Regions from separate parts of the Homo sapiens genome. Here regions 2, 3, 4, 5, 6 and 7 are each linked to region 1. The links are contacts of gene promoters, found by promoter capture Hi-C in blood cells and fetal thymus (Javierre and others, 2016). All regions are on one chromosome and are shown on one strand. The core of a region is centred on a gene start or on the middle of the fragment in contact, and the rest is flanking DNA. Distances in the headings are between cores, read along the strand shown.

Evidence for each region. The method cuts DNA at HindIII sites, captures the fragments that hold promoters and counts their contacts. A CHiCAGO score of 5 or more calls a contact.
Region 2: a contact is called between a fragment that was not itself captured here and the fragment with the promoter of UBXN4 in region 1, in 12 of 17 cell types (erythroblasts, activated CD4 T cells, total B cells and 9 more). The highest score is 11.1, in erythroblasts.
Region 3: a fragment that was not itself captured here is called in contact with the fragment with the promoter of UBXN4 in region 1 in 13 of 17 cell types (non-activated CD4 T cells, naive CD8 T cells, total CD4 T cells and 10 more); the score reaches 11.6 in non-activated CD4 T cells.
Region 4: a fragment that was not itself captured here is called in contact with the fragment with the promoter of UBXN4 in region 1 in 5 of 17 cell types (monocytes, non-activated CD4 T cells, total CD4 T cells and 2 more); the score reaches 8.3 in monocytes.
Region 5: a fragment that was not itself captured here is called in contact with the fragment with the promoter of UBXN4 in region 1 in 10 of 17 cell types (erythroblasts, M2 macrophages, total CD4 T cells and 7 more); the score reaches 9.7 in erythroblasts.
Region 6: a fragment that was not itself captured here is called in contact with the fragment with the promoter of UBXN4 in region 1 in 3 of 17 cell types (fetal thymus, naive CD4 T cells and activated CD4 T cells); the score reaches 5.6 in fetal thymus.
Region 7: a contact is called between a fragment that was not itself captured here and the fragment with the promoter of UBXN4 in region 1, in 3 of 17 cell types (total CD4 T cells, naive CD8 T cells and non-activated CD4 T cells). The highest score is 5.9, in total CD4 T cells.

What each region holds. Positions count from the first base shown.
Region 1 is chr2:135,739,926-135,743,701 of GRCh38, forward strand. It overlaps UBXN4 (UBX domain protein 4), which reads left to right and starts at 1,930. Exons shown (of 13, transcript NM_014607.4): 1 at 1,930-2,086. The coding sequence starts at 2,005. It overlaps LOC107985946 (a long non-coding RNA gene), which reads right to left and starts at 2,719. Exons shown (of 1, transcript NR_163478.1): 1 at 904-2,719. RefSeq lists enhancers at 1,548-1,677, 2,008-2,067, 2,396-3,171 and a silencer at 2,468-2,517. The HindIII fragment of the contact is 10,462 bases long and covers 1-3,776 here.
Region 2 is chr2:134,958,855-134,962,630 of GRCh38, forward strand. CCNT2 (cyclin T2) reads left to right here. Exons shown (of 9, transcript NM_058241.3): 9 at 1-488. Among named protein-coding and RNA genes, the nearest start is that of CCNT2, 42 kb to the left of the region's middle. The HindIII fragment of the contact is 2,736 bases long and covers 439-3,174 here.
Region 3 is chr2:135,041,322-135,045,097 of GRCh38, forward strand. All of the region lies in intron 1 of MAP3K19 (mitogen-activated protein kinase kinase kinase 19), which reads right to left. Among named protein-coding and RNA genes, the nearest start is that of MAP3K19, 4.2 kb to the right of the region's middle. The HindIII fragment of the contact is 4,100 bases long and covers 1-3,624 here.
Region 4 is chr2:135,069,328-135,073,103 of GRCh38, forward strand. All of the region lies in intron 3 of RAB3GAP1 (RAB3 GTPase activating protein catalytic subunit 1), which reads left to right. Among named protein-coding and RNA genes, the nearest start is that of RAB3GAP1, 19 kb to the left of the region's middle. The HindIII fragment of the contact is 6,083 bases long and covers 1-3,776 here.
Region 5 is chr2:135,086,521-135,090,296 of GRCh38, forward strand. All of the region lies in intron 3 of RAB3GAP1 (RAB3 GTPase activating protein catalytic subunit 1), which reads left to right. Among named protein-coding and RNA genes, the nearest start is that of RAB3GAP1, 36 kb to the left of the region's middle. The HindIII fragment of the contact is 4,398 bases long and covers 1-3,776 here.
Region 6 is chr2:136,381,147-136,384,922 of GRCh38, forward strand. No RefSeq gene overlaps it. Among named protein-coding and RNA genes, the nearest start is that of CXCR4, 260 kb to the left of the region's middle. The HindIII fragment of the contact is 1,658 bases long and covers 994-2,651 here.
Region 7 is chr2:135,109,489-135,113,264 of GRCh38, forward strand. It overlaps RAB3GAP1 (RAB3 GTPase activating protein catalytic subunit 1), which reads left to right. Exons shown (of 24, transcript NM_012233.3): 6 at 3,663-3,776. Among named protein-coding and RNA genes, the nearest start is that of SNORA40B, 25 kb to the right of the region's middle. The HindIII fragment of the contact is 1,365 bases long and covers 1,311-2,675 here.

The sequences.
Region 1 (3,776 bases), core at 680-3,179:
CCTCCCAAAGTGCTGGGATTACAGGCATGAGCCATTGTGCCTGGCCAACTCTTCTGTTTAAAATTTTTCAATGGCTCCCTGTAATCCTTAGAAAAATGTCTTAAAATTTTTAACATGATTTTCAAGACTCTGTATCATCTGATCCTTGCCTAGCTTTCCAGCCTCACTTGTACCACACTCCTCTTTCTATGTTATAGCCACACTGGGCATTTTTTAGTTCTGCAAGTGCACTGTGTTTGCTTGCTTCAGAGCCTCATGTGGAATAGCCTTCTCCTTCACCTACCTAGAGTTCCCCGACACGTCATTTCCTCATGAAGGCCCTTTCTGACTCCACTAGCCCATGTTCGGTCCCATCCTCATACACTTCTGTAGCACTCTGAATTACCCTTCTGTGACATTTATCATCACTCATAATTACTTATTCAATGTCTGTCTTCCTGACTAGACTGTACAGTCACAAAGACAGGGCCTTCTTCTGACTGCCTCACCTCCTTATCAGTGCCAGGCACAATGCCTAGCTCATAAAAGATGAGTGATAAACACTTGACAAATGAATATAAAACTATGAAGGATTCTTATTTAATTCTAAAATTAGAGATAATTAAAGACATAGCTCTATTGGAATAATTTCTAGATTGATCAAATTTCCAGAAGTCCATTAAAGTTGATGTTAAAGGTCAATTCTAATTTTTCTGTAGGATTGTTGTCCTATAGAAGCAACTGTCCCTAATCAGCATTATGTCTCAGTTTATAATAACACTATATACGAGAGGCCTGATTGGGAAAAAAAGTACAAAAATCGGAGTGCAAATAATTAGCTATTTTTAGGGAAAATATCTGTAGGAAAGGTGGTATATTCAGATGTATCACTTCCTTTATCTTGCAAAGATTGTCAGATAGATGTACTGCTGGAGGATAAATTTAATTGATGTAGAATTTAACATAATAGTATATGCAACTTTAAATAAACCATGCAAGCCTTTAGCTAATAGTTATTACAGACCATGTGATTTCATGAAAGTATTAAATATGGATCAGTTTTCATTTAATGGCAGCCAATCACAAAGCGCCACATCTTGATTATAGGACATTCTCCCAGAAAATTGGAAAATAAATCACTATCTAGTCTCTTTTGTATTACCATGGAAAGTAGCTGGAAAAGAAATAATCTATTCTCTGCTTTGTGTTACTTTAAAAAGTAGCTGTGGCAATAGCCTAACGCGTTTTGAAGTTTTGAAATGATCTCTATCCAGTGTCTAGGAAATTGCTGAAGGCCTGCGTTCTACCAATTCCTCCGCTTAGGCACATGGACTACAGGTTATTAAAGAAGGTGACTTGCGGTTTTTATCCCGTTTTTCTGCAAGGTTGGGCTACGTTCAGAAGAAATCAAAGCCTCGGAGTTAATCCCGACAAAGCCCATTTAGTTCCATGCGAGGACTATTTCCTCCACACTGAGAGTCTCAACGAGGCCGAGAATAGCATATGCCAGTTGGAGTGACACTTATTTCTCCCTCTCCCCTTTATAGAATGTGTAGTGGCCCTCACTACTGCCCCCTTTAGCTGTGCCTCAGAACCCACAGTTACATGCTCCACAATATGGAGGCGAATAAGCCTAAGTGGACTACAATTCCCATCATGCCTCACTGCAGGCGCCGCCGACGTGTCTTAGCGGTTAGTCATCCCTCTTACCGCTTTCCTCCACTTCCTGGACTGCGCGACCGGAGGCCTAGCGGGCGCGCGCCCGCACCATCGACTCGCCAACGAGAGAAGGTCCTGGGGCACGGACACCGACGGGTTGCGACTGTGACGTGAGGTGTTCTCGCGCGCGCTAGCGCGCGTCTCCGGGTGCCGCTGACGGGCGTGCGCGCTTGTGCGGAGCCGGAGGTGGGGGCCGAACCAGCCAAGGTTGCGGGGGCCGCAGAGCCGGACGAAGACGGAGGGCGGAGCCGGCTTCGGGACTGCGGAGACTACACACCGAGCGAGCGCCTGGGCCCGAAGGGAGCGATGCTGTGGTTCCAGGGCGCCATTCCGGCCGCCATCGCGACGGCCAAAAGGAGCGGCGCGGTCTTCGTGGTGTTCGTGGCAGGTGAAGGAGGCAGGGGTTCGAGAGGCGGCCGGGACACCCCTCCGGCCTACCTTCATCCTCTTGTATACCTCAGCCGCCGGCCCGCCCTCCCCGAGACGCGGGCTCCTGTCGGCTCGCACAATTGCCACTACTACCCCGCGCCCCAGGGACGGCTGCGACTCCGCCGCCAGATCCCCCAGAGGGGCCATGCAGACCCTCAGCGCCCTGCTCCTTCAGGCCCCGGGCGCCCCCAGCCTTTCCTCAGTGTCTGCGAGGCCCGGGCTGCCGGCCCGTGGCTGTTCAGCGCCTCCCCGGTTCGTTTGAGATACAGTGGGCCTGGCCCCACCGCTGCGTCTCCCGGCAGCCGGGCCGGAGGCACCGTCTGGCCCTGGTCTCCAAAGCGCCCCGAGGCCCGCCGAAATCTCCCCGCTCGGGGCGACGGACGCGGCCAGCAGGCCCCAGCCGCCCAGCCCCGCTCGTCGCCCCGAGCCTCTCCCCTGCGCAGCCAGACCCCCGCGACCCTCTCCCTGACGTCCCTCTCTGTCACCAAGGACCCTCTTTGTGCTGCTTGAACGCCCGTTTCGTTACTGCTGTTTAGATGGAGGTAGGAACGGGCCATTAGGCAAGCAGTTGGGTTGTAATTAGTTGTGGACTGTCGGGAAGAAAGCTGTGTCATCGATAAGCAACAAAGAGAAACCACCTGATGTTCACGGTTACTGGTGTTAGTACGTTCCTGAAACGTAAACTTTTGAGCTGAATAGAGGTTTAATTTTTCTTTATGGCAGTCTTGGTAGGGGATCTAGTGTGAAATAATGTAAGTTTAAAAAAAATCCATTAGTTTCAAAGAAAATAGACGTTCAGTCCTTGGTTTCTTCCCTTTGTTGTCTTCTTAGGCTAAAATCTACACGACTTTGAGAACGTTTATTAACTCATATATTCTCTGTTGCTCTAGGCTATTTTGCTCCATATTCTCCTGTTTTATTACTGAAATCTTGTAGATTTACAGTGAACTCCCTGCCTCTACGGTTCTGCTCATACTCATTACATGGACCAAATCAATGTTTGTGGCTGTTGTTAATTTGAGGTGTATTTCTTCAACTATTTGTGTTTAATAACGGTTTATTCATAATTAACTCGTCTTTTAATAGCTCTATAACTTTATGCACTGCAGTGAAGAACGAATTACTGAAATGTGAATGTCATTTAGCATTAAATTTGGAATTTATAATTGTTTTGTTACGCCAAGTTTTTAGCTCAATGCTGTTTATTAGAAGAGCTTGAATAGTTTAGATTCTGTGATGCTGTCTGGGGGTTATATTATACTTTACATAAATTAATTCTGTAATCCCGTAAGGAAAAAAATGGATTGAAAATGAAAGGAAAAGTAAATGACACTATGCTTATTGTGTACATTAGTAGGTTTTTGACATTTTAAATTGTTTTTCTCCTAATATCTCAGTTGATCCTTGCAGTAAATAGAACAGGTTTAATTATCCCCATTTTATAGATGAGGCACTTAGGTCAGCAGTCATAAAGTGACTTGCACTAGGGCCACAAAAAGGATTTACATGTCTTAACAGTCAAATTTTTTAGTAGCTTCAAAAAAACTGGCTTTTTTGTTTCTTAAGGAAAAAACTGAACAATTTGTAAATTGGTGATTTAAATTGGTATAGAAATCAGAAATTTGGATTATGGTAGTCATGTTTTTGAA
Region 2 (3,776 bases), core at 557-3,056, 780 kb before region 1:
GATTGATTAAGTAGGTTGATAAGATCCATCGAAGATTGAATGGCTAGGAGTAATTCTGTTCTCGTATAGGCAACTTAACTTCACTGTGGAATCCATTTATCTCAAAGTTTGAGGGCTGTCTACTTTATTTTCAAGTTTGGGGCGGAAACTCAAAATCCCGAGCATTGCCACTTTAGTAGTTTGTTTGATTTGCCTATTGTTTAATAATGAGTACATTCTTATTAAGTGATGAGTACATTCTTAATTTTAAGGTATGTTTTTTTCAAGCAGCTTCATTTTATTAGGAAAAATACATACTCATTTGTTGTAAACAGTGATTGTGGGGTTTCATTTTCTGAATGTACTCAAAACTCCCAACAACAATTGAACAGGATGTTTGCTAATAGAAAATCTAAAACAGGAATATGTGTATATGGCATGAATTAGTCATTGACTTTAAGCTTCTTATCCATACAAGGAACTAATAAAATGTTTATTGACAACATAAATCCAAGGCTCTAACATGTCTTAAGTTAATGTGAATCAGAAGTAACTTTGAGGTGGGGCGCAGTGGCTCATGCCTGTAATCCCAGCACTTTGGGAGGCCAAGGCAGGCGGATAACCTGAGGTCAGGAGTTCAACACAACCCTGGTCAACATGGTGAAACCCTGTCTCTACTAAAAATACAAAAATTAGCCGGGTGTGGTGGTGCATGCCTGTAATCCCAGCTACTCGGGAGGCTGAGGCAAGAGAATCGCTTGAACCCAGGAGGCAGAGGTTGCAGAGAGCCCGAGATCGCACCACTGCACTCCAGCCTGGGCGACAGAGCAAGATTCCTTAACAACAACAAAAACAGAAGTAACTTTCAGTCCCTGGAAAATGTGAGATCTCTAGTATAATTGACCCTTTATCCAAGTAATTTCATGTATCATTCAGGAGTGCAGGCTCTGGGATCAAATGGTCCATGCTCTAGTCTCAGCCCTACCATTTAATAACAGAATGGCATTGGGTGAATTACTTGATCTCATGCTTTTTCTTCCCTACAAAGTGTTAGTAGTAGTACCTGTTCATCATAGAGTTGTGTAAGGCTTGGATGGTCAAGGAAGGCTAGATAGAATAGCATTAAAGAGAATCCTAATTGAGGGGTAGATGTGGGATATTGGAATGATGAAGGCCAATCCAGGTGTGTAACTGGAACATATTAAATACTGCATGCCCGCTGTGTCCAGAATTCTCTTAAGTTGTTCATTCTAATTTCTGTTTTAAGATTTTCTTGTCTAACCTCTTGCATCACTCCCATAAAAAGCACAAAGAATAGTTGCAGTACCCATTTAAAATTTTTTATTTTTTGAGACAAGTTCTCACTGTCAGCCAAGCTAGAGTACAGTACAGTGGTGTGATTTTTGGCTTACTATAGCCTCCGCCTCCCAGGCTCAAGCGATCATCCAACCTCAGCCTCCTGAGTAGCTGGGACTACAGGCATGTGCCACCATGCCCGGCTAATTTTGGGGGGTTTTTTTGTGGTTTTTTTGTTTGTTTTGTTTTGTTTTGTTTTGTTGTTGTTCTTGTGTTTGGTAGAACGGGGTTTTGATACGTTGCCCAGGGTGGTTTCAAACTCCTAGGCTCAAGCAATCCGCCCACCTTGGCCTGCAAAAGTGCTAGGATTACAGGTGTGAGCCACCATGCCCGGCCCCTTCAAAAATATTTAAGCATAAGCTGTTCTTTAATAAGGCTGCTCGCCAGCTTCCCTCTCCTTACCAGCAATTTCCCTGCACCTTCCACTTGAAAGAAAATGAAAGCTAATTGCAATAACTTTGATAAAGTAGAATTAGGATAGAAAAGTCGCTTCTTTTAAAATAGATTTTCAGGCCGGGTACGGTGGCTTATGCCTGTAATCCCAGCACTTTGGGAGTTTGAGGCCAAGGTGGGCGGGTCACCTGAGGTGAGGAGTTCGAGAACAGCCTGACCAACATGGCGAAACCCTGTCTCTACTAAAAAATACAAAAAAATTAGCTGGGCGTTGTGGTGCGCGCCTGTAGTCCCAGCTACTCAGGAGGCTGAGGCAGGAGAGAATCGCTTGAGCCTGGGAGGCAGAGGTTGCAGTGAGCCGAGATAGCGCCACTGCACTCCAGCCTAGGCGACAGAGCAAGACTCCATCTCAAAAAAAAAAAAATTTTTTTTTAATTAAAAATAAAACATTTTCAGCCTAAATGTAACATAAATATTTTTTGTATCACAGTTAAGAGATTTGTCTCACTGGTGCTGACACCAGTAAGGGCTTGTTCTATTAACATAATAAATTGGATGGGTTTTAACTTTACAAAGTGAGTAATTCCATCTAACCAAACTCATCTAAGTCCATTGTTTATTCCTTCACCCCTGCCCCCTGCACTTTTCAATATAATAAATTGTATGTTTTTATTTTAGCTGTAGCATATGGCCTGCCTATTCCTTCCCCTCAATACCACCTCCCAAAACAATGTAGGGCCTCACTGACAAAATATTTTTATTATATTGCCATGAAATTAAGAGGCTTACTTAGACCTTTCAAATGTTCAGACACAGTTGAGGAGGCCAGTTTTCTATAGTCTTTCACGTCAGCCTGTTAGTGACTGCTTTATGGATGAATTCAGCCATGGATTTTCATAATGTCGTGATGTCCTGTCAATAGGAGAAAGCACTATCCTCTATAAACTTGACAGTGTAATGGCATATACAAACTTTTTTTTAAACTTTATTACCAGTAGAGAGAGAGGCTGCTTACACCAGAGATTTTTTAATTGGCAGAATCACCTGGAAAGATTTTTAAAATGCAAGTTTCTGCATTTAAATAGCTGCTTTAAACTGAATTAATACTTGTAAGTGCAGCTCGTATGAAGAAGAAAGACGGCCTGGTAGGTGATGGTATGCAGCTTTTGGCTGCTCCTTGAGCAGATTAAGTGGGTTATTATCTTGGAGCTACTCATTACACAGTGTACGACTAAAGTAGGTTAAAGTTAAGGAGATGCTGTAGATCTACTTTTTAGAACTTGGGGGTTAAAATGTCTTTGGTTGAGCTTGGGCCCAGAGCATACAGGAATTTAGTACATAATAAGATGAGTTTTCAATGTGATTGAAAACTCAGCGGTTGTGCCTTGGGAAAAGGGTGATGCTCATGGAAGGGAGGACGGTATTACTGCTAGGTGAACAATGAAAAGCTTTTCACACCATTAAAGTACTCAAAATAATAAAGGGAGGACGATACTACCATCCCAATCAGCAGCTAGAATGAAATGATGTGCCTTTTTCTGCTAAAAGCTCAGTGAATGCTAGCCATCCCAGCCCCAACCTACCTCCACTCCCAACCTCCTTTCAGACCCTCTTCAAAAGGAAGAGAGCACACATATGGGCAGTGATAATGAAGAGTGTAATTCCAAACAATTGTTCATGTCTTAAACACAGTGAATAACAAAAACACAGAAGCTTTGAGGACCAAGGCTTGCCTATTGAAAACTTCAGCTTTTTTTTTTTTTTTTTTTTTGAGATGGAGTTTCGCTTTTGTTGCCCAGGCTGGAGTGCAGTAGTGTGATCTCGGCTCACTGCAACCTCTTCCTTCCAGGTTCAAGCGATTCTCCTGCCTCAGCCTCCCAAGTAATTGGGATTACAGGCACACGCCACCATGCCCAGCTAATTTTTTGTATTTTTAGTAGAGATGGGGTTTCAGCATGTTGGCCAGGCTGGTCTCCCAACTCCTGACCTCAAGTGATCCACCTGCCTCGGCCTCCCAAAGTGCTGGGATTACAGGGGTGAGCCACCCT
Region 3 (3,776 bases), core at 325-2,824, 700 kb before region 1:
CTCTCCTGCATGGAACCTTTTTTTTTTTTTTAATTTTGAGATAGAGTCTCACTCTCTCGCCCAGGCTAGAGGGCTGTGTCACGATCTTGGCTCACTGCAACCTCTGCCTCCTGGGTTCAAGCGATTCTCCTGCCTCAGTCTCCTGAGTAGCTGGGACTACTGGTGCGCCACCATGCCTGGCTAATTTTTGTAGTTTTTGGTAGAGACGAGTTGGCCAGGCTGGTCTCGAATTCCTGACCTCAGGTGATCTGCCCACTTTGGCCTCCCAAAGTGCTGGGATTACAGGCGTGAGCCACCGCACCCAGCCTGGAGTCTCTTGCTGTTAGTAACAGCACGACATCCTTTGTCAGGCTCTATACTCCAACTTCTGCTTCTGACACTACAGTCACTGTATGTAGCCACATGCTATTGATTCGATGTGCAATTTCCTTGCTATAATCTGGCATGAGATTGAAAGCAAAAGAACAAGAGGCTCATTTCATAGTATAAGTTTGTGGAGGATAGCTAAGAAAAACAAACAAGAAAAAGTCTAGATTTGCTCTTTAATGTTCTAAACACACAAATACCTTCAGAATTCATGGGCCAGACTACGTGAACATGTACAGAAACACAGAGAACATGTGTTCTGTTCTAGAAATAGTACTCTAGAACATGTACTATTTCACTCTAGAAATAGTACTAGCCCATGAATTCAGCCATTCATTAGGAAGATGCTATATGCCCTTCAGCAGCTTTCATTGACCAGTCCCAATAAACATAACACAAAATAGGTTAGATAAAATACAAGAAAGAACACACGTGATTAAGTGTCCATGTAAACATCAGATAATGAATCTTACAGATGTCAGAGAAATGGGCTGGCCATGTGATCTGGAAGATCCCCTTGAAAGAAGGCATTCATTGCCAGGTAGTGGCTCACGCCTGTAATCCCAGCACTTTGGGAGGCCGAGGCGGGCGGATCACGAGGTCAGGAGATTGAGACCATTCTGGCTAACACGGTGAAATCCCGTCGCTACTAAAAGTACAAAACATTAGCTGGGCATGGTGGCGGGCGCCTGTAGTCCCAGCTACTCTGGAGGCTGAGGCAGGAGAATGGCGTGAACCCAGGAGGCGGAGCTTGCAGTGAGCTGAGATCGCGCCACTGCACTCCAGCCTGGGCGACAGAGCGAGACTCTGTCTCAAAAAAAAAAAAAAAAAAGAAAAAAGAAAATTAAAAAGAAAAAAGAAAGAAGGCATTCGTGATATCTGGAGAGTCACAGTGAAGGAGAATGGGCAGCTCTGATGAAGGACAGGCATGAACTCAGGCCTCTATCTGGGGCCGAGGAGGAGAGAGTAAAACCAGATGGGAATTTACCCTGGATTCCCCAACACATCGGGAAGCCCATGGAGAGCTTTCAGCAGTGCGTTTTAGGAACATTGGTACTTTAGTAAGATTATTATGATGCAGAGGAAAAAGGCAGAAACAAAAATTTGAATGTGGCTGGGCATGGTGGCTCACGCCTGTAATCCCAGCACTTTGGGAGGCCGAGGGGAGGGGATCACCTGAGTTCGGGAGTTCAAGACCAGCTGGGCCAACATGGTGAAGCCTTGTCTCTACTAAAAAATACAAACATTACCCGGGTGTGGTGGCGCGCACCTGTAATCCCAGCTACTCAGGAGGCAGAGGCAGAAGAATCACTTGAACCCAGGAGGCACAGGTTGCAGTGAGCCGAGATCAAACCACTGCGCTCCAGCCTGGGCAACAGAGCGAGACTCCATCTCAAAAAACAATAACAACAACAAAATTTGAATGTGAGGGTTCACAGGATTTGTGACTGATTGACCATAGACAATGAAAAGGTCCAAGAGGTTGGGGTCCAGGAACTAAGGGAGGACCCACTACTGGGCAGGTGATTCCTTTTACAGAAAGACAATAGATGAGGTCAGCAGCAGAGCCAGTATGTAAACAAGTGTGTGTGGTTGGTGTTCTTGGCTTTCAAAGAAATGGTGGCCTTAGCTCAGTGCAGTTTCCTGAACTTGCTTGAACATAAACATTTCCTTGTTATAAAGATTCCAAGTTTCCTTTAGTAGATCTGGGATGAGCCTGGCGACTCTCTTTCTTTGAAAGAGATTTTTAATAGACTTTTAAAAATTGACTTTATTACTTAGAGCAGTTTTAAGTTTTTTATGCAAAATTGGGCAGAAAGTACAGAATATTCCCTCTCCACTGCCCCCTACTGGCCTCGCCATCAACAGCCTGCACCAGAGTAGTACATTTGTTAACAATAGATGAACTTACAAACAGTATTATCACCCAAAGTCCATAGTGTAAATTAGGGTTCACTCTTGGTGTTGTACATTCTATGGGTTAGGACAAAGGTATAATGACATGCATCCACCATTTTAGAAGGTACAGAATAGTTCCATGGCCCTAAAACTCCCCTGTGTTCTGCCCATTCATTCCTCCCTCCTCACTAACCCTGGGCAACTGGTGATCTTTTTATTTCTCTGGGAGGCTCCCAATCAGTTGCCACATTAAAAGGCAACTTCTAGAAACACAGATCTTGTGATTAGAATTGAATCCACAATCTTTCTTGCAATCCACTTTGTTTTCTAATTGACATTTATCATTACTACCTGTTACTCCTTTTGATTTAAACTTGCTAGAATAGATATTAGTTTCCCCTTCAAATTTCTAGCAGAATACTTTGAAATAGTGAATGAATTCCTCAAGTCTTTATCTACCTTTGTTCAAAGTGAAGTTACATAATAATAACAATAATACAACAACAGCAATCATGCCCAACATTTATTGAATGCTTGCTACGTGTCATATGCTTTTCTAAATGGTTTACAGGTGTTTGTTCTATTTAATTCCAAATAACACCATCAGAACAGTTGTATTATTATCCCTATTCTATAGATGAGGAAAATGAAGCACAGACATTGGCAAAATGGTATCTCACTCCAGAGAGATGAGAGTGCTACTGCCCAAAAAGATGTAATGGAGCCAGGCGCAGTGGCTCATACTTGTAATCCCAGCACTTTGGGAGGCCGATGTGGGTGGATCACCCGAGGTCAGGAGTTCGAGACCAACTTGGCCAACGTGGTGAAACCCCATCTGTACTAAAAATACAAAATTAGCCAGGCATGGTGGTGCATGCCTGTAATACAAGCTACTTGGGAGGCTGAGGCAGGAGAATCACTTGAACCTGGGAGGCAGAGGTTGCAGTGAGCTGAGATTGCACCATTGCACTCCAGCCTGGGCAACAAGAGTGAAACTCCATCTCAAACAAACAATGACAACAAAAAAGATGTAATGGAACTAGTATTTAAAGGCACATTTGCAGAATAGTCTTATTTCCGTTTTCATGTTTGGACCTTAGCTAGATGGGGATGAGCTCATCATTACTCCTTGCTAGCCACACTGGATGGTGTCAGGCTTTCCTCTTGTTTTATTTTTTCCCTTCAGCTCTGATCCCCTCTGCCTGATAAGAACCCAATCTAATGTGCCTGAGAGGTATCCTCAATAAGTGTATATCCTTATAAGGCATGTAGTGCTGTTATATTACATTGGTTTTTAATTTACACAAATAATATTGTACTCTAGATCTTGTTAATTATTTGTTAACACTTTGCTTTTTAAGCTTTATCCTTGTACTTATATGTACAAGGTTTTTGGTTTTATGTTCACCGTATTTTATTACTCCCTTAGTGATGGACATCTAAGTTGTCCACTCCACAAACAACACTGTGATAAACATCCTTGTTTGGACCTTATTATGCACCCTGTAAAC
Region 4 (3,776 bases), core at 655-3,154, 670 kb before region 1:
TCTTCTGGATGGTCTTGTACCTTTTAAAATAACTGTAGTTTAATTTTTCTGCATTTAGTTTTATAATTAACCATTTTCTGTACTTTTTTTTCTTTATTTAGTCATTTTTCCCTTTAGGTTTTTGATTTAGTGATTTGATTTTTCCTTCTAATGAATTTCATATAAATTGGCAAGTTTTATGGATGAGTCATTTTCTAAAACTTTGTAAAAATGGTTGTTGAGAATTTCAATTGCATTTTTCCATAGAACAGATGTGTTTAAGATATGTTTACAGGGTAGCAAATAAAATATTAATTTTTTCTCTCTACTTTTGGGGCCATGTCATAAAAGATTCTTCATCATCTCAACTACTTCTTTTTGTTCGTTTTATTCATTTTTTTCATTTATTTATTTGTAGAGAGCCTACTGTGCAGTAGGAATTATCCCCCTCACTTCCTGTTTATTAAAACAACCTTCTACCCCTGCCCTCCCTCACCTCCAGATTATTAAACCCTTTTCCCTTTACTCCACAGTCATTTTATCTCAGCTGTCATACTTTCTGTGCCTCCCTCCAGGAAAGGAAAAAAAATTTTTATCTGAGGAATGGGAGCTTCTTTAAATTATCCATCAGAAAGAGTCATTTAAAATGTAACAGCAGTCTCACCTCTCCTGAGCTAAATAATTACCTTGAAGCCACTTGCCATGTGGGTTGTTAAATGATGCCAATGGCCATAAAATGCCATACGATGGGTATTATAATTCATACCCTGTAGTTCAACAATGTATAGCCAATCACTAATCAGTGTTATCTCTGTAAACCAATGAGAATTCCTGTCAAACAACTTGGTATCAGCTCACTCCTTGTTTCCTTTAAAAACCTGTTTGTAACAGAGGCAGACAGACAGACAGAACACCCCCCAAGGCAACTTGGAAATGTGTCCCGGGCTGCAGTCCTCAACTTTGGCCCAAATAAAATCCCTCTGTTATTTTGCCTCAGCTTCTTCTTTTAGGTCAACATGTGTAACTAATGACTTGGAGCTGTTCAGGCAGTTAGAGTTCAACCAGTTTAAAAGCCACATAGCTCATCGTGGATAGAAGGACTTTACCATGGTATATAATGGGTGTTCTTTCTGTCTTTAGTTTTTTAAGTAGAGATAGGGTCTTGCAGTGTTGTCCAGACTGGTCTCAAATTCCTGGCCTATAAAAGGAATTATTATTTTTATTTATTTATTTATTTTGTCAGCCAGCTGGAGTGCAGTGGCGCAATCTCGGCTCACTGCAACCTCTGCCTCCCAGGTTCAAGCAGTTCTCTTGCCTCAGTCTCCCGAGTGTCTAGGATTACAGGTGCCCACCATCACGCCCGTCCAATTTTGTGTTTTTAGTAGAGATGGGGTTTCTCCATGTTGGTCAGGCTGGTCTCGAACTCATGACCTCGTGATCCGCCCAAAGTGCTAGGATTACAAGCGTGAGCCACCACGCCCGGCCTGTAAAGGGAATTCTTAATCCAGAGTCTTGGGTCTCTTTAAATTGTATGCATTCTTAATTTTGAATGTGAATATGCACAATTTTCTTGGGAGGTGGTCCATAGCTTTTGTCAGATACTCAAAGGAGCCCATGACCCCAAAAAGGTTAAATAAAAGCTAACGTTTAAAAATATTTTGGTATATATTCATTATTTTAAAAATTAATGTATTTCATGTTGACAGAATTTATATATACAAAGGCTTACTTGAACATGTACTTTTGGGACAGCTTGTATGATAGAGACTACAGGTTTGTGTGGAAGCCACAGTTTATGCACATACAGGACTGGTAGTTTTTAAGTTGGTGAAATTTGTCCTTGATACCCTTCTACCATCTTACCCTTTTTCATAATCCTAGTATCCTGGCCTTGAGGCCCAGAGCCTCATTTTACTGGCCCTTAAATGCTCCAAAATTACCCACTTTTTTCCTTTGTTTCCAGTCTCTACCCCCCTAACTTCATCCCCTGTCCAAAATATTATGCTAATCCTAATCAGTGGAAAGCAGTTTTATTAATTTATTTAAAATATTTGAATGGATGGTAATTACTTGATGTTACAAAAATAGTTTGGTTTCATATTTTACTAAAATAGTCACAGAAACTTCTTTTAGGCTCCTATCTTTGAATTCCTTTCTGTTGTGGGTACGACTGGCTGGGGCTGGTGTTGCAGGTAGTAAAATAATTTACCAAGACAGTCGTAGGTTAAAAAAAAAAAAAAGAATTATTAGAGAAAGTATGAAGATACAAAGATATGTTGCAAGGGTGCAAGTGCAGCACAACAGAAAAGGGGCTGTCTGCAAAGAGGAAGGAGCTGGAGGGGCCTAAATGCAGGATGAGGTTATGTTCCTGGGGCTACATGCTCCCCTTCCATGTTGTTGTTTACCTATCAGGTCTCCACATTCCCCCCACAGCAGAACAATGATGACAAGTCTTTGACATTGAGGGTAGAGGTCTCATCTCCCAACCACTTCCTGCTAACCATGGGTATGGCAATGGCCCTGCCAATGGCTGTTGGTCTGTCAGGAGACTCTGTAGGTCATTGTCCTGGATTGTGGGACTTAGAATATTGTATTGAATCTTTCTTTCTTTCTTTCTTTCTTTTTGAAATGAGTCTCGCTTTGTCGCCCAGGCTGGAATCTAGTAGTGTGATCTTGGCCCATTGCAACCTCCATCTCCAGGGTTCAAGCAGTTCTCGTGCCTCAGCTTCCCAAGTAGCTGCGACCACAGGTGTGCACCACCATGCCTGGCTACTTTGTTGTATTAGTAGAGACGAGGTTTCACTGTGTTGACCAGGCTGGTCTCAAACTCCTGACCTCAAGTGATCCTCCTACCTCAGCCTCCCAAAGTGCTGGGATTATAGGCATGAGCCACAGTGCCCAGCCATATATTGGATCTTGTTGGAGGAAGGGACTTATCGGAGAGGGGGAGCATGTTAAGACATAACTAGCATTCAACTGAATCCAGGGAAGATTCATAAAAGTAGCAGGCATCATTGGGGAGAGACTTATATCCCGTTTGCAGTATCATTTGTAGGTGAAACTGTAGAATTCTAGAAGATAAAGTTTTGTTTCTTAAGCCAGTTATCAAAAAGGCAAAAAACCTTTTGCAGTGTGACTTTTTGTCCTTATTGGAAGCCCATTTGGGTAACCTGGAAGTTAAACTTGATGAAAAAGTGTTTGAATTTAGTTAGACACAACATAGGGAACCAATTTTAGAGAGACTATTATGCTTTAATTACATACAATATTCTTTTTATAAATTTCCTGTCATGATTTTCTCATGACTTACGTAGACCATCTATTATATGCTTGGACTTTTTGACTTGTCCTGAACATCCCTTATTTTTAAACAATGAGTTATTTTACTTTAGGACAAGAAATTACCATACAAGATCCTTTCTCATATAAAGTATCTTTTTTATAACCTTCCTTACCAAAAATACCTCTTTACCATTATAACCTTTAATTAGGCAGAAATTATTTTTCTTCTGTTAGTAAGTTATGGTTTGTATTACATGTTGCTGTGTGAGCCTGTGAAGGGGAGCAGATAGGGAAGTTGTCTACATACTGTAGAAGTTATCCCCCTTCAAGAGATTGCCCAGTTAGATTTCCTGCTAGGGTCTGTCTGAATAAGTGTGGGCTATTTTTAAGCCCAGGGGTAGGACTATGTAGGTTGAAGTTACTGGTTAAAGATTTAGGTAGCTTTCCCGGGAGAAATAGGGCTATTAGAGGGAAAGATGAATTCAGAGGTTGGGCACATATTAAGCAGACACCCA
Region 5 (3,776 bases), core at 609-3,108, 650 kb before region 1:
TAGCGCTTTCTGCTGTCTATTCTTTTGCTCATTAAAAAATTTGGATTGTTCATTTTTTTTATTATCCTCATATATCCTGGTTGCAAGTGCTTTTTCAGGTATGTATTTTGTTTTTCCTGTAGTCCATTGCTTCCCCTAATCTTTTTTTTTTTTTTTTTTTTTTTTTCCTTAGAGATAGGGTCTTGCTTTGTCACCCAGGCTGGAGTGCAGTGGTACAATCATAGCTCACTGCAGCCTTAAACTCTTGGTCTCAAGTGATCCTCCTGCCTTAGCCTCCCTAAGTAGCTGGGACTACAGGTGCACACCACCATGCCTAGCTAATTATTTTGTAGAGACAGGGTCTTGTTGCCCAAGCTGGTCTCGAACTTCTGACTTCAAGTGATCCTCCCTGATGGACCTCCCAAAGAGCTGAGATGACAGGTGTGAGCCACTGTGCCCAGCCACCTAATCGTTTTCTTAACTGTGTCTTTTGATAAGCACAAATTTTATTTAGATGAAGTTCATTTTCTCTATTTTTAATTTTATTGTTAGTGCTTTTTGTGTCTGGTCAAAGGAATCTTTGCCTATCCCAAGGTATTTGCAAGATCCCAAGATATTCTCATGTTTTCTTCCATGTGAATATTTAATTATTCCAGCACCATTTGTTGAAAAGACTATTATTTCCCCCCTGAATTCCAGTAGCACCTCTGTTGTGAAGTCAAATGTAAGTGCGAATGTTATTTCTGGACTCTATTTCATTGATCTGTTTGTCTGTCTTTATGCCTATACTATACTGTCTTAATTATTGTAGCAAAGTGTTAAAATCAGGTAGTATACTTATTCATCAAAATTATTTTAGCTGTTCTAGGTTCTTTGGATTTTCATATTAGTTTTAAAATCAACTTGTCAATTTCTACAAAATGCCTGTTGCTGATGTTTTGATTGGGATCATGTTGAATATATAGATTAACTTGGGGAGAACTGGTGTGTTCACAGTGTTTTATCTTTCAATCCATGTATGTGATGTATCTCTATTAGGTCTTTAATATCTCTCTGCAGTGTTTTGAAGTATTTTAGGTAGAGTTTTTGCTCATCTTTCATTAAGTTTATTCCTAGATAATTTCTTTTTTTAATTGTAGTAAGGTATTTTTAAAACTTTCTCTTTCCAAGCATTTGTTGCTAGTATATAAAAATACAGATGGTTATTATATATTGACCTTGAATTTCATAACTTTGTAAACTCATCAGTTTTAGTCATTTGTTTGTAGATTCTTTTGGATATTCTACATACATGATCAGGTAATCTGTGAATAGGGACAGTTTTCTTTTAAATCTATACATTTATCTCTTTATTTTCTGGTTAGGATCCTCAAAGGTAATTTTTAATGAATTACTAGGTCAGTTTTGATGAACTAGAATTGTCATTTCGGTTCGCATAGCAGATACATGCCTTACTGGAACTTGGTATCAAGTGACTATATCCTAATGGAATTGAATATGGGATGTTAGAGTGTTGTTTATCAGTTGAGTCTGTTTTGGAGACAGAACTTGGATGCCTTGTCTTTATTGAATACAATCAGATCTTCCTCTAGATAGTTGTTGGTTAAGGTTGACAATAGTACCGGAATCCAGAATTAGGGACAGACAGTATCTCTGTATCATTTAAAAAGATTTACTGCAAACTTGAAAAAGGGATTTCTCTCTCCTTTTCTGGACTTTCTTTTACCTAGTTTTAGCCATAACTGCTTTATATTGGGCATTTCTTCTAGCAAAACAAGCTCTTATGTACATTATCATATTACTTACTGCCTCTTGAGACTTTGGTATACGCAGTTGATGCCTTGATTTAACACAGGTCAACCTCATGGTAAAGAAACCCACCCCACACAAAAAAAATTATGATTTTTGGCCAGGTGTGGTGGCTCATGCCTGTAATCCCAGCCCTTTGGGAGGCTGAGGTGGGCAGATGACTTGAGGTCAGGAGTTCAAGACCAGCCTGGCCAACATAGTGAAACCCTGTCTGTACTGAAAATTCAAAAATTAGCCAGGCGTGGTGGTGCATGCCTGTAATCCCAGCAACATGGGAGACTGATGCAGGAGAATCGCTTAAACTTGGGAGGCGGAAGTTGCAGTGAACCAAGATCGCACCACTGCACTCCAGCCTGGGTGACAGAGCGAGACTCCATCTCAAAAAAAAAAAAAAAAAAAAGAAAGAAAAGAAAAAAAATTAAAATTCTTTGCCCACTTTTTGATGGGGTTGTTTTTTCTTGTAAATTTGTTTAAGTTCTTTGTAGATTCTGGATCCATTAGCCCTTTGTCAGATGGATAGATTGCAAAAATTTTCTCCCATTCTGTAGGTTGCCTGTTCACTCTGATAATAGTTTCTTTTGCTGTGCAGAAGCTCTTTAGTTTAATTAGATCCCATTTGTCAATTTTGGTGTTTGTTGCCATTGCTTTTGGTGTTTTAATCAAGAAGTCTTTGCTAATATGCCTAGGTTTTCTTCTAGGGTTTCTATGGTTTTAGGTCTTATGTTTAAATCTTTAATCCATCTTAAATTAATTTTTGTATAAGGTATAAGGAAGGGGTCCAGTTTCAGTTTTCTGCATATGGCTAGCCAGTTTTCCCAGCACGATTTGTTAAATAGGGAATCCTTTCCCCATTGCTTGTTTTTGTCAGGTTTGTCAAAGATCAGATGGTTGTAGATGTGTCGTGTTATTTCTGACGCCTCTGTTCTGTTCCCTTGGTCTATATATCTGTTTTGGTACAAGTACCATGCTGTTTTGGTTACTGTAGCCTTGTAATGTAGTTTGAAGTCAGGCAGCGTGATACCTCCAGCTTTGTTCTTTTTGCTTAGGATTGTCTTGGCTATATTGGCGCTTTTTTGGTTCCATATGAAATTTAGTTTTTTCTAATTCTGTGAAGAAAGCCAGTGGTAGCTTAATGGGGATAGCATTGAATCTATAAATTCCTTTGGGCAGTGTGGCCATTTTCATAGTATTGATTCTTTCCATCCATGAGCATGGACTGTTTGTCCATTTGTTTGTGTCCTCTCTTATTTCCTTGCCTCAGCAATCCCATTACTGGGTATATACCCAAAGGATTATAAATCATTCTACTATAAAGACACAGGCACATGTATGTTTATTGCAGCACTGTTCACAACAGCGAAGACTTGAAACCAACCCAAATGTCCATCAATGACAGACTGGATTAAGAAAATGTGGCACATATAAACCATGGAATACTATGCAGCCATAAAAAAGGATGAGTTCATGTCCTTTGTAGGGACATGGATGAAGCTGGAAACCATCATTCTCAGCACTCTTAACACGGGAACAGAAAACCAAATGCTGCATGTTCTCACTCATAAGTGTGAGTTGAACAGTGAGAACACGTGGACACAGGGAGGGAAGCATCACACACTGGGACCTGTTGCGGGAGGGGAGGGCTAGGGGAGGGATAGCATTAGGAGAAATACCTAATGTAGATGACAAGTTGATGGTTGCAGCAAACCACTATGGCACGTGTATAGCTATGTAATAAACCTGCATGTTCTGCATGTGCATCCCAGAACTTAAAGTATAATAAAAAGATTATGATTTTGGATGTGTATCATACATGACAGTTCAAATACTAATGAAAAGATTGATATTTGATGTACTTACGTAATAATACACACTTAGGACACTTAAAATAAGATTTAATTTAATTTAGAATTATAAATATCTTTCCAGGAATATATATAAAAATTCAGATGTTTACACTAGGTATAGCCATGAAAACATTTTAAAAATAG
Region 6 (3,776 bases), core at 573-3,072, 640 kb after region 1:
TTTTAGTAGAGACAGGGTTTCTCCATGTTGGTCAGGCTGGTCTCAAACTCCCGACATCAAGTAATCCCCTCCCACCTTGGCCTCCCAAAGTGCTGGGATTACAGGTTTGAGCTATCATGTCTGGCCCCCTATAGCAGCTATTCTTAAGTCTCCAGCTTCAGAGGGCTGGGGCCAGGAGAGGTTAAGAGGTGAACATCCATATTTACAGCCTTCATGTTTGGGGCCTTCTTCTCCCTCCTAAGGTTTTTCTGTGTTAAAATGCAAGTACATGTGCCCCTGGTGGAGAAACTCCCCGGGCTATAAAATTTTTACTACAGAATTGACAGAAATGGTCCCTGTAGATTTGGCTGAAATAAGATGTGCTTGAATTGTAAAGGGATGCCCCATATTTGGGGTAGGTGCTGTGCTAGTCACAGTCAATGTGCTTGTCAGGTGCATCCCCCTAGAAAACCAGCTGAGTTTGGTGTGAAGATAATTGGGAGGAGGAGAGTTTGGGTTCAGGGAGGAAAGGCCTGGTGGGGGCCTGCAGTGGATGGGAGAGCAAGAAAGAAGGGGCGTGGAGAAAAGTAGGGAGGCAGGTGTGGGGGTGCTAGAGGTTGTTACTTCCTGAAGTTGGGTCCCTCTGGGTGGAATGCCTTTCAGTGACCAGGGGCCACCTGTCCCACCATGTGACTCCATTGCTCAAGGAGCGTCCAGTGGAATAAGTGAGAATCTGAAGCAGAGAAAAATCATCCAGCAGCCATGTGATGAGTATGTAGGGGAGAGTTGAGGCTATGTGGTCAGCTTCGGTCCCGAGTTAGAATCAGATCTGTGACTTCAAGCAGAGTGACCCTGAGCTGGTTATCCAACTAATTCGTGACTTAGGCCTTCTGATAAACTGGGCTTCATAATATACTCATCTCACAGGGCTGGTGTGAGGATCGGCAGGGGTCATGTGAGGAAGCACTTAGCAGAGTCTAGCAAGCACTTAAATAGCAACTAGCGTCATGACAAAGCTTTATGCTCTGGATGCCCTTGACGGGGCTTTTAGCTGTGTGACCTTCAAGAAGTCACCTGCTCTTTCTGAGACTCAGTTGCTTCAGCCCTTTAAAAACAGAAACAAACACAGCCGACCACAGGGTGTGTATGGATCTGAATGAGTACAGACAAAGTCACTCATTGCAGGACTGAGTAGGAGGCAGGGTGCTGGGATTGGTGGGTTTAGGGAGGTCTGGGAGGGCCCTGAAGCTCAAGAGAAGTTTGTTTGGAAAGAAAAGCATCTTCCGTTTTGACTGAGAGGAAATGGGGAGGGGATGTGGTGCAGCGTCAAAGGCAGGGTCTGCTGACGAAACTTGGTGGTGGTGTTTCTCAAACAGAAATAGGACATTCTCACTCTCCGTGACACTCAAACTCCAAAGTTTCGGCCTGGGTGGTGGTTGCACCTGTCACTGACGACCTCACTTGACTTTGAGTTAAGCTGCCCAGGCAGCCAGAGCAACTGTGCCCTGGAAGGCGGCCCTGCCATCAGACAGACATGTTTTTCATATATTCCTGATTTTCATGTAGTAGTTCACTGGACATTTACTGCACACCTACTATATGCTAGGTGCAAGGGATTCAGCAGTGAATAAAACAGTTGCAGGTCTTGCTCTCAAAGACCTTTCAGTCCTGCAGGAGACAGAGGCAATAGAGAAAGAACAGCTTACTTGCATGTATAATTAAGATTTTTGCTGTGACGTTAAAGTTCAGAATGCTGTGAGACTGTACAATGGGGCAAAACCTAATTTAGATTGGGAGACCAGCAAGATAAATGAAACAGGAATGGAGTTCAGATGAGAGATGAAATAACACTGGACTGAAGTGGAGACAGGCTTTCTTTTTTCCTCAAACACCTCCCTTCACATCCAGGCATAGACCACTGGAAAAGTAGTTGCCCTGCTTCCTGATATTACTGTCCTCTAAATACACACACTTTGTGTACCCCCTCCATTCATTTCCACCCCGTCAGTCATTCTTGCCTGTATAAATTTCAACTTTAGCCACAGCCCTGGCCTCACTTCTTATAAAGCCTGCTTCACTCTTCAGTTCTCCAAGTTCTCTCTTCCTTTAGGCCTTTTTTTTTTTTTTTCAGGGTGGTCTGGACTGCTCTTTCAACCTGATTCTATTTGCCCATGTGGCATGTTTTGTTAATCCCATGGCCATACGTATGCTGGCATGTCTATAGTCCATCTGTGCAAATAGATGATACGTAGCATTTCCTCAACCAGAATACTGAGGAGCCTATGCAAATGAGCCATAATAGATCTTATCCTTCAGCCTGCTCACTTGAATGAGTTAAAACTGAGATACAGAGTAGTTAAAGGGGCCCACCAGTCACTGGACGAGAGTCTCAGACTATGATCATGTCTTGTTATTTTATCTTTATATCTCTTCAGGGCATTTGTTCCAGAGTCAGAATGCAATAGATGTTTTCTCTTTGATTGTTTATTCCTCGAGTTGGCCCATACATGTACTATCCCCTGTTCTTCCATTACTCATTTCAAGCAGTAGCTGTAGCATCTGTATTATTTAGCTCCTCTGTATGACTTGATTATCTTATCTGTCAAATGGGTATAGTAATTCAAATCAACAAACATTTATTCAATACTTACTATATCTCAAGGACTTTGCAAAGCTTTGGCGGGGGGCGGGGGTGGGTGCTGCAATAAGCCTGTTAAGATAGATCTGTACTCTTGCCTTAAGGAAACACACAGTGGTAGAACTTGGTAAAGGAATAACTACACTATAGCAAAAATGTCTATAATAAAGGAATATGCAACATATGGGAACACAGAACAGAGTAACTATTGCCTGGGGTAAGTGGAAAAGCTCATTAACACCTTCTCTACTTACCTTGAGTTTGCATTATGAGATTCTAATGAGATCATGCAGTGAAAGTGTGATGAAAAATGGAAAGGATTGTGCATGAAAACTACTAACCAAATGGATGGCAGTGTGATATGGGAGACTTTGGAGAGAGGTGAAAGAAGAAAGTGGTGGCTGCGACAAGAGGTTTGGACAGCATCTGTTCTGATGAACCAGTAAGTCTTACACACAGATAAAATTCAGAGGCATGGCTATAGACCATCTGAGCTACAGCCACCCCAGCTTTAAATTAAGATTTTGGCCACAGGAATGACCCAACCTCTTCATTCCATTAACATAGGTGAAAGCTCTGTGACCTGGAGTATTTGTCACCATTATCCTCCCATTGGAAGAAGATGATTGGGAAGACTGGAATTAGATGAGCGGAGGGAATGCTGGTGGGAGTGGGCCTTTGGAATGGGAAGCCCATAGCTATGACCATCTTGTCAGAACTAGGAGCCCTGATGGGCTAGTGAGAGAGTCACTTCTCTCTCCTTGTCCCTGCATCTGTAATCATGGAGATCTGAATGATGTGTTGTTTTGAAATAAGTGGTTTGCAAACATGAGCAGCTGTCATAATAATGAAAGCACAACATTCAGAAAATTACTCTTTGGTTAGGATTGACAATAGTTTGGGTCAAAGGACATTGCCCAAAGCAAAATAATTATGTATGGTGCAAGTCTGACATCATGCTAGGAGGCATTCTTTAAAAACCAAAAACAAAAAACCCATTTGTGTACCGTCCTTGACTCTTGGTTCTGCCCAAGCTCTAGAGCGACATCCAACCTAGCCCTGAGAATAGGAGAGAAAAGTGACAACAGGGCACTCTCTGCTGGTGAGGCAGACCCACTACAGCTCATTGCCAGAGTCTCTGCCTCTGAGCCAAACCTAT
Region 7 (3,776 bases), core at 743-3,242, 630 kb before region 1:
ATAGATATAAAGAAATATGTAATTCGTTTGAGTTTTGTCCATTTTAAATATTGATATATTCTTCCCTTTTGCTCTCCAAAAAAAATTTTTTTTTTTTTTAATTTTTTATTAAGAGACAGGGCCTTGCTCTGTCACCAGGCTGGAGTGCAGTGGCGCAATCTCGGCTCACTGCAAGTTCCACTTCCTGGGTTCACGCCATTCTCCTGCCTCAGCCTCCTGAGTAGCTGGGACTACAGGCGCCCACCACCACGCCCAGCTAATTTTTTTGTATTTTCAGTAGAGATAGGGTTTCACCATGTTAGCCAGGATGGTCTCGATCTCCTGACCTCATGGTCCGCCTGCCTCGGCCTCCCAAAGTGCTGGGATTACAGGTGTGAGCCACCGCTCCCGGCCTTTGTGTATTTTCTTTTGAGTGACATCCATCCAAGTCCTTTGCCCATTTTAAAATCTGGTTGGTTGTTTTTTGTTGTTGTTGTTGATTTTCGCTTATTTTTTTTTTAAAGCTCCCACGTAATGTTAGTTTACTTTTGATGAAGACATAGTCTCAGGATTCAAGTAGACCTATTGGGGAAAAAGTAGTGACTTATATTGACATTTTAAAGATCATAAAGAAGAGAGTACATTTATCAAGAGTGATATTTGAGGTAAATCCTTTTTTTTTTTGAGATGAGGTTTCACTCTGCTTCCCAGGCTGGAGTGCAGTGGTGTGATGATGGTTCACTACAGCCTTGACCTCCTGGCCTCAAGCAGTTCTCCCACCTCAGCCTCCCAAGCTGCTGGGACTACAGGCGCTCTCCACCATGCCCAGCTAATTTTTACAATTTTTTGTAGAGAGTGGGTCTTGCTATGTTGCCTAGGCTGGTCTTGAACTCCTAAGCTCAAGTGATCCTCCTGTCTTGGCCTGCCAAGATACTGGCATTACAGGTGTGAGCCACCACACCTGGCAAGGTAAATCTTTAAAGAATTTGTCAGGATTTGTGTATTTAGTAATGGCAGTAGAATGGATGGGGGGAGACATTTTATCAATAGATAGAGGAAAGAAAGGCTTAGGGGATAGAAGGTAGATTGCAGATAAATGGCAATTCAGTTTGGCTTGTTATTCATGGCTTGTATACAGTGGCATTGTGTGTGTGTACAGTAAGGAGGTTAGCAACAGCTATCAGTGTTAAAATGCAAATGTTCTTTTATCCAGCAACCACTAGAAATTTATTATAGAGATATAGATGTAGAAAAACAGTTGCAGTATTGTTGCAGCAGCATAAAACTGGAAATAAAGTACTGATCAATAGGGGATTGTACTTTTGAAAAGAAGCTTTACAAAGTGTATACAAATAATATAATTGTATTTGAGGGTAGGGTGGTTACGCAGATAAATGGAACATTTCTGGAAGAATAACCAAGAAACTGTTGACAGTGATTTTATACAAGTACAGAGGATGGAACGGGGATGTTCACTTGTTTTGTTTTCTTTCTTCCAGGGACATTTGAAAAAAAGAAAACTATTTTTCAAAGATCTTTAGAGCTCAATTTTTAAAGCTCTAGATTATTTTCATTATTTTATGCTGCCTCTGCATAACTAATTTTGATTTCAGGGCTAGGAGGGTGGAGGTAGGGTGAGGAAATGAAATAAGTTTTTGTCATCTAAATAATAAACATTATGAATTAAACTTAATTTTTTAAATCATTACTCCTGTTTGGGGCATTTCTTGAGGAGGATGTTTATAAAAATAAGGATTAATAATTCTTTATATACCAGAGATAATAAATTAGGCAAATGAGTAAAATCTCTCATAAGTTATTTTCTTTATTAAAAAATATTAAATATAAATACATTAAAGAGTGAATAGGAGAGGAATTTTCAGTATACAGGATAATCAGTTTGACTTTATTTTCATAAAAATTTGGCAGCAAATTTGTGACTTTAAAGGATATGGCAACTGAATGAGAAGTTTTAATTAATGTAGATGTCATAGCAAGATCAAGCTGCTTTATGATAATTTTTTAACCCCTTTTTAATGTGTTATTGAGTAAAAGAACACAAGAATTCTTTAATTAGGATACTTAGTAAACTGTGTTCTCACATTTAGAAAGGACATATACATCATTGCTGATAATTTTCCTGCAGTTTAGGGAATCTGTCAAAGTTTCTTCATCTGCAGACTTAGTGGTATCAGTTCATTAAAGCAAAGTTTCAATACTTGCCTCTTTTATCTTGTAAACTTAACTTTAAAGGCAAAACTATTGTTTAATGGTCCTTGTGATTTCAGCAAATTGTTTCTTTTTTTTCTTTCAAATATCAGATTTCTTTATACTTAAAATGTGCACATTATAGTTTACTTAGATACAAAATGTTTACTTTCCTTGTAGGTAAGGAATTTCACTGACATTTCCATGTCAATTAGCTTCTTTTTAGTAAAAATCCTTCCATTAAAAATAAACATTTAAATTACTCAACTATTATATTCATTAGTCTCAATACCTCTTAAAAATACTTAAAACTTTAGAAAATAGACTGTAAACCTTGCCTAAAGGAGGCATCCAGCTCTGAGCAGACCACACGGAATGTGTTAGAGCATGGCCATATGCATGGCCATACAACTCCTGGGGCCACCTCCACGATGGCCCAGCCCCACCACTGACCCTCTGCTGAAAACCCTGCCCCTCAGCAGGACGCAAGCTTGTCCCCCAAATAGTGGTGACCTCAAACTGTAATATGATGATGAAACCTACAGCCGATACTGCCTTCCACAAGGGTTTCTGGAAAGGCTGAAGCTGGAGACGGTAAACCGCAACACCGTCCCAGGTCACCCCAGCTAAAGACATTCTATACCAGCCAAAAGGCTAAAGTTTAGTTAAGGGTTCAAAGGCAAATACACTGAAACCCATGTGTAAACCTGCCTGGTTTTCAAGCTGAAAGAGAAACACTTTGGTGTCTTCAATAACCCAGGCCTGCACTGGATGAAGCAATGAAGGCAAGGTCACGGCTGCTAAAGCACGGAGAGGTTAAAAAGTGTGAAACCAGAAGAAACTCTTGAGTGAGAGATGTGAAGCAGCAGGCCGAGGCATCAGACACCTCTCCCACCACACACCTCTCCCACCAGACACTTCTCCCACCAGCTGCAGGGCTCTTGGCAGCGTTCTCAGCCCAGCCATTCTGTGACAGTTGTTTTAAGGAATCAGCTGTTGACCTTTTTTTCTCAAGCGGCAACAATAACATCAATATTACAGTGGTCTTATGAATACACCCATGTGATCAACTTGTTAGTAAACACATGGGTATACAACATAAAGTAGGCAAAGCGGAAAAAGTATTTACAACTGTCAAAGTCTCTCTCTCTCTCTCTCTCACACACACACACACACACACACACACACACACAGATGGGCACGCAAATATATCTGAGCCTATTTTAGCTGAATCAAATTTAGATTTCAGCAAATTGTTTCTAATTTGTAAAGAATAGAGGGGAACTAGTAGGTGGATGATGGAAGTGCTTCTTAAAGTTGAGGTCTTGTAGGTTCTGTTGCCATTAAAAGAAACACTTTTAGTTTAAACCTGACTTGTTAAATTTTCTGTAGTGAAATTTTTTTGTGCTTTTCAAGTAATGGATTTTTGTGTTCTGAGGTTTCCCCTGTTTAATGCAGTTAATTCTTTTTTTAAGGTATGGGCTACGTGAGTTCGTGGTGATTGCCCCTGCTGCACACAGTGACGCTGTTCTCAGCGAATCTAAGTGCAACCTTCTTCTGAGTTCTGTTTCTATTGCCTTGGGAAACAC